Regions from separate parts of the Homo sapiens genome. Here region 1 is linked to region 2. Evidence: promoter capture Hi-C in 16 types of primary human blood cells and fetal thymus (Javierre and others, 2016). All regions are on one chromosome and are shown on one strand. Each heading gives the region's core, a stretch centred on a gene start or on the middle of the fragment in contact. The rest is flanking DNA. Distances are from core to core; before and after follow the strand shown. Region 1 holds the start of SNX22 (sorting nexin 22). Region 2 holds the start of LACTB (lactamase beta).

Region 1 (3,298 bases), core at 35-2,534, 1.0 Mb before region 2:
ATCAGGAGGGCAGCACAGGACCTCACCATGGAGGGGACAGGACCTGGGTTTCATGGAGCTGGGACTACCTGTGTCCGTTACCTCTTTCAGTCCTTTCAACAAGCCAGAGGGGGGTGTTTGGACCTATATTAGACTCAGAAAATTGATGCTTGAGGTGGTGAATAACATCCCCAAGTTGTGGGTTCCCTCCCTGCCATGCCCCCACACCTCTCTGTCTGGGCCACACCCCTGGCACAGAAGGCCGGGGGGCAACCAACTGTGCTCTCGCATACCTGGATGTAAGCCTCCAAGCCCTGCCGGCGCTGTTCCAACCCTCTGGTCCTCCAGTTGGGCAGGCGTTTCGAGGGGAAGTCGGGCACTTTGTACAGCTTCTTGATCTACTGGAGGTTTACCGCGTGCGATCACAGCATCCCGACTGAGCCCTCAAGCCCTCTTCGCCCCAGCCAGAAGCCCTCCCGCGCCCCCGCCTTCGGGCTCTACTGGGACAGACCCTGGTGAGTGGTGGACCGGCCGAGGGCGAGGAAGGCCCCAACCCACCCACAGAGGCCCGGGGGCTGACCGGCTGCGCAGGGACTGAGGCAGTAATGGGGGTGGCGGAGGCTGGGGCTCGCCCGCCCGCCTCACAGGGCCTGGGCGGGGGCTGGACAGAGGCTGGGCCGGGGCCGGTGGGAGGTCGGCGCCGCCTCACCCGCTTGTGCAGCGCGTGGAACTCGCTGTAGCGCCTTGGCACCGTGTGTCTGCGCCCGCTGCACAGCACCTCCACTCGGAACACCTGGCGGCGCGGGCGGGCAGCGGGTCTGCGCGTGAGGCCCCGCGGGAGGACGCCGCAGCACCTGCGCCTGGCGACGTGCCCACCCTCCCGCTCTCAAAGGCACAAAGCGGCCTTGCGGCGCCGCGGCTGCCCGGGGACTCTCCGCTCCCGCACACCTGGGAGAACCGGCTGGCGGACCTGCCCCTCGGAGCCCTGGGGTCCCTCAAGAGCTCGAACCATGGTCCGCGAGGCTGGCAAATCCAAGCGGCCCCCAAACCCTCGACAAGGTTTCCCCCGACGGTCCAGCCCGCAGCGCTCGTTCACCCAGGCCCGGGCCCCGGGTCCCCACTGAGCGCAGCGCGGGGAAATCCTGCGGGTCCCGGCGCCCCTCCCCATCCAGGGGCCGCGCTCACCATGTGGCTTTTCTCCGGGCTCTGCCTGGGCCCCTCGGCCTCGGGCCCCACCGACGGGATGTGAACTTCCAGCATCCGCGCCCCGGCCCCAGCTGCTCCGCGCGCTCGGCTCGGAGCCCTAACTCTCCCGGAGCGGACTGAGGACCCCGGGGCGGCCGGCTCCGCCCCCTCGGTCCGCAGGCCCCACCCCAGGCCCCGCCCCCAGGCGACCCCGCCCCGGGCGTTCCCTTGCGCCGCGGGTCCTGAGCCTAGAAGATTAGGCGGGACCTGGACGCCGCCCCCGAAGTCTAGTGCGCCCACAGCGCGGGGCAGTGGAGTCAACCGTTTGTCAAACATTGACGGAGCACTCACTGATGCCAGGAACTGGCGAGCGAAAATGTCACCCAACCTGAGTTAAGCGCCTACCAAGGACGGCCTGTGGCTCCAGGCGCGGACGGAGGCGGGGCCCGGGCCTCAGCGCCGGTCCTGGGGCCAACCAGGGACCTGTCTTGGGTTCCTCAGTCCCTTCCCGAGCCTTTCCCTCCTTTCAGCCTGGTCCCTGAAATTGTGATCTGGATTCCCCGGCTGAGGCCACACCTGAGCAAGGCTTGGACCCAGTCCAGCTTTGATGCCCCTTTCCCCAGCATCCACAGGCCCCCCCATTCATTCATTGTTTTCATCCATCCATTCACTCATATCTTCCAACCCTAAGGGGCTCCAGGCTGTTTGTGGGGAAGAGGCAGTTTAGGGACCTAGACTCCGATTTGGACGTCAGACTGCCTGGATTTCAGGAGCTCCGTAGACCTTTGCTCATCTGCAAAATAGGGATAACGTGGCTCCTTCAGGCAAGTGTATAAAGTGAGATGATTTGGCCGGGCGCGGTGGCTCACGCCTGTAATCCCAGCACTTTGGGAGGCCGAGGTAGGCGGATCACCTGAGGTCAGGAGTTCGAGACCAGCCTGACCAACATGGTGAAACCCCGTACCTACTAAAAATACAAAAATCAACCAGGTGTGGTGGCACATGCCTGTAATCCCAGCTACTCAGGAGGCTGAGGCGGGAGAATCACTTGAACCTGAGAGGCGGAGGTTGCAGTGAGCCGAGATCAAACCATTGCACTCCAGACTGGGCAACAGCAAGACTCTGTCTTAAAAAAAAAAAAAAGTGAGATGATTCATGTTAGGCCCTTAACAGAAGCATTGAGCAGCAGCTTGACTGTGGGCTTCTCCTGGATGACTAGGATAAGTGGGCACAGGGCAGTGGATGGGAAGAGAGACTTTGGGGGGTGGCACCGGGTTGCTCTTGTCCACCCCTCCGGGCAGGTTCTTCCTGGATATGTGGCAGGATTTTGATCCAGAACTCTCTCAGGCCATGTGCTGGAAAGGACCTCTGCTCCCACCTCTCAGCCCTGCACCCTTCAGCTGTCGGAGAGCTGCTATCAGCAGCACCATGGCAGGTCCTCTACTCCACTGACTTCCCCCACAAAGGCCCCGTGACATGCAGAGAGGCGAGGCCCTGCCTTCCAAAGCTCATACGTAGTGGGAGGTCTTGGGGTGGGCAGGAGGAAGCAGAGTGCCTGTCTTCGGGGCTGGGGTTGAGGGGACTCACCCCTCCCCTGCTTCTGCAGAGACGCCTCTGAGCTGGAGCAAAAAACCTCCATCCCCAGCCCTGCCCCCAGAGAAGGGCTGAGATGACGACCCCAAAATGGGGCAAACAGGTCTCACCAATATCATGTCCCACATTCTCTTTTTCCAAATTGCATCACACAAGGACCACAGAATCAGGAAGCTGAAACTTCCCAGATTCTAGTGGGGTCCCCTAGAAGAAAAGCAGCCCAGAGTGAGGAGAAGTGCTGTGCTTTCATTTCCTCCCTACGGCCCCATCATTCAGGGACCCAGCTTTCCCTGGCCTACAGGGCCTCCCCAACTCCCACTGTCCAGGGAGGCCTCTCCTGGGATCCTCAGACTTCTTGGTCCTCATCCTAATGACTGTCTGCCCCTCTGTCTGTGAGTCTCCATTTTTTCCTGCCTTCATCCCCAATAGAACGTCCATTCTCTACCCTGCAGCACAAACTGTTATCAAGGCATGTGCTTAAAACCTTCCAATGTTTCCCACTGCACTTAGAATAAAACCCACTCTCTCTATGCAATCCACA
Region 2 (3,051 bases), core at 135-2,634:
TTTCCTCAGTTTCAGTTATCCATGGTCCGAAAGTATTAAATGGAAAATTCCAGAAATAAACAATTCGTAAGCTTTAAATTGCATGCCACTCAGAGTATTGTTGTGATTGTTCTATTTTATTATTGTTGCTAATCTCTTACTATGCCTGATTTATAAACTTTATCATAGATATGTATATATAAGATAAAATATAGTATATACAGGGTTCAATATCATCCACTTTTTCAGGCATCCACTGAGGGTCTTGGAATATATCCCCAGGATAAGGAGGGACTACTGTATAAAACTTTCAGACTAATAAATCCAGTCCTAAGAGAAAAGTGGGAGTGGGTAGCCATCCTCATGACTCCAATTTATTAGTCACATTTTAAACCTTACCGTGATTTAAAAACACCTGACTCTTTATTATGTTAGATGTTTTCTCTACAATATGCATCGTTTTATGTAAATGCAATAGCATTTCATGGGATCCACTCTAACCAGTAAAACAATATTTTATTTACCAACTGGCACAGAACAAAACAACAATTTTCTGAACCCACCTTCTGACCAGACTTCTTTTCCATCTACAGAAACTCCAACCACTATGCCCGGTGCGCCCACCTCATCCTAAGACCGAAGGGGAAAGAACCGACAGTTACGGGCCTGCTGAAAAAGCCCAGCGCTCTCCTCGGGGACCTTCCAAGGCCCCGCCCCCTGAGCCTGGGCCCCGCCCCCTCCACCTGGGCCCCGCCCACCTCGTCCCAGGCCATGGTCACTCACTAACAGCAAGGGATGTGCCTGTCCGCCCCCTAGGGGGAAGGGGCGGTCCCCGAGACAGGCGGTGACCTCCACCCAGATTTGGGGAACCCCCAAGAGCGTCTGACCACGGCTCGGCGGTGGGGAAATGGGAAGTCTTTCTCGGAAGCCGATCGCGGGCACCCCGCCGCCCCGGGTGGGGTCCACTCAGCCCCCGACAGCACCGCCGACAGGGGTGGATCCCCGGCCCCCTACGCCCCCCGCTCCAGTGGCCGCACCTTGATCCTGTGCAGCAGGTCGCGGCTGCTCTCGATGGCTCTGGCGAAGCACCTGGAGCAGGGCGGCGCCGGGGTCTGCGGAGACCACGGGGCGAGGGACTGCTCCTGTGGCGGCTCGGCCAGAGGCGACGCCTCAGGGTCGGGGGCCGCGGGGGACTGCGCCGGGGCCGCGCCCCTCAGCCCACCTGCCAGCTTCACCCCGAGCGCCAGCCCCAGCCCCAGCCCGAGGCCCCCGACCCAGCCGTGGCCGAGAGGCGGCAGCCCGGCGCGCTGATGGACCCCGCGTCGTCCGCAGCTTGAGGCCAAGCCCCCGGGGGCGGCAGCCCGGGCAGTCACTGCTGACATGAGCCGGTACATGGCGTCTCTGCACAGCCGGCCGCCACCAAACTCACGCACACCCTGCCAGCCGCGGCGCGGGGCGGAGGGAAGGGCAGGGGGCGGGACGGGGGTGGGGACCGCGGTCAGACCCTAGCAGTCGACGCCTGACTACCCGAGCGCCGATCGCATCGAGCCCTTCTTCCTCTCCCTTTTCTTGTCTCTTCCTTGTTTTTCCTTTCTGTCTCTCTTTCCTTTTTTTCCTTTGCTTACCCTCAGATCAAGCGTCACCTCCCAGAAGCCTTCCTAGTTCCCGTCCCATGGGAGTTCTCGCCCTTACCATCTTGCCCCTCAGTGTGCACACTTCTTTAACAACAGTTAACACTTTGTATCATTTAACTACTTGTCAGATTCCTTACCAGAGTGGGACTTCTTTGGGGAGCCTAGACTTAGTTTTGGATCCTCAACTTCTGGAACAGCGCAGGGCACACAGTAGACGCTCAGCAGGCATCTCCTTTCCCTTTAGAGATGCCTTTCTCCTTTCCTTTCCCTTTCTCCTTTCCCCCTTTAGAACGCGCTTCTTTTCACTCTCTTGCCATCTCCCTTATGTCTCATTTCAATTCACCCATTTCCCTAAAGATGTTTTAAAATCTATTGCTTCTGGAATTCTAGCTCCACACCGTACCAAAGACATGAAGTTACATCCAGACCTTATATTACCTTTCTTTTGCTATAAAAGATAAAGTGTTTTTTAAAAATTTCGTGCTTGAAAAATTTTAATCCAAAAGTAACTATTATAATTTACAATTACCTATGATTTCTCAGCATCTGTAAATGATCAGACATTCTTGTGAAATAAGAAACCTAATCTCAAATTGCTACAAAATGTAAAATGTGTATAAAATCCTAGTTTAACGTGTAATGAAATTGATATGTTAATTTGAAGTTACTTAAACATTTATCAGTTTTGTAATTTTTATATTTTGGGATACATACATACACACACACACACACACACACACACACACAATCTTTGAAAGCTTGTAGGCTTTATACCTTCAGCACTGGGGCAATATGCCCCATATACAAAATGGCCCTGTCTTTTCTTGCAGGTGGAATAAAGAAGAGAGCTCACAGACTTGAACTGACAAGCCATCAGGACAAACATATTGAGGTAATAAACTTACTGAGTAAACATATACATACCTCAAAATAAATATATTGAGGTAATAATTATTTAATAGGAGGAAAAGGCAATAATGGTATCCATACCTAGCAAGAAAATAGTGGGGCTAAATAAGTAAAGCTTCTGGGGCTACTCACAAAACCCAAGACTCCAAGAGACCAGAATATCCTAGGACCCAGAGCGTTTGACACTGAAACTGCAGTTATAGTGGACAGATGTACTCTATTAAGATAGTACTGGAGGTTCCCACGGTGGGGGTCACCACTACTCCAAGAACATGAGAGAAAAAATATAAAGAGAAAAATGTAAAAGACGCAGTCAGTGGTGGTTATGAGTGCCCACTTTTATTTAAACTGTACATAATTTTTCTTTAAACTGTACATATGTTACTGAAACACCAAGGGTTTAGCCTAGATCCCATTGCTCGCCACACAGAAAGCCAGTCACCAAGACAATGAGTATCGCCGGGGGAAAACAAAGCTTTTTCAGGTGCTGCAGCCAGGGAAACGGGAGTTCAGTCTCAAGTCCATTTCC

What was found. The method cuts DNA at HindIII sites, captures the fragments that hold promoters and counts their contacts. A CHiCAGO score of 5 or more calls a contact.
Region 1: a contact is called between the fragment with the promoter of SNX22 here and the fragment with the promoter of LACTB in region 2, in 1 of 17 cell types (activated CD4 T cells). The highest score is 5.4, in activated CD4 T cells.

What each region holds. Positions count from the first base shown.
Region 1 is chr15:64,149,717-64,153,014 of GRCh38, reverse strand. It overlaps SNX22 (sorting nexin 22), which reads right to left and starts at 1,284. Exons shown (of 7, transcript NM_024798.3): 1 at 1,165-1,284; 2 at 689-772; 3 at 273-377. The coding sequence starts at 1,239. RefSeq lists silencers at 579-958, 1,159-1,598 and an enhancer at 2,516-2,625. The HindIII fragment of the contact is 12,291 bases long and covers 1-3,298 here.
Region 2 is chr15:63,120,194-63,123,244 of GRCh38, reverse strand. LACTB (lactamase beta) reads right to left here and starts at 1,384. Exons shown (of 6, transcript NM_032857.5): 1 at 1,017-1,384; 2 at 543-609. The coding sequence starts at 1,373. LOC107984798 (a long non-coding RNA gene) reads left to right here and starts at 1,478. Exons shown (of 2, transcript XR_001751584.1): 1 at 1,478-2,505. RefSeq lists silencers at 626-815, 826-895, 916-1,495. The HindIII fragment of the contact is 2,300 bases long and covers 74-2,373 here.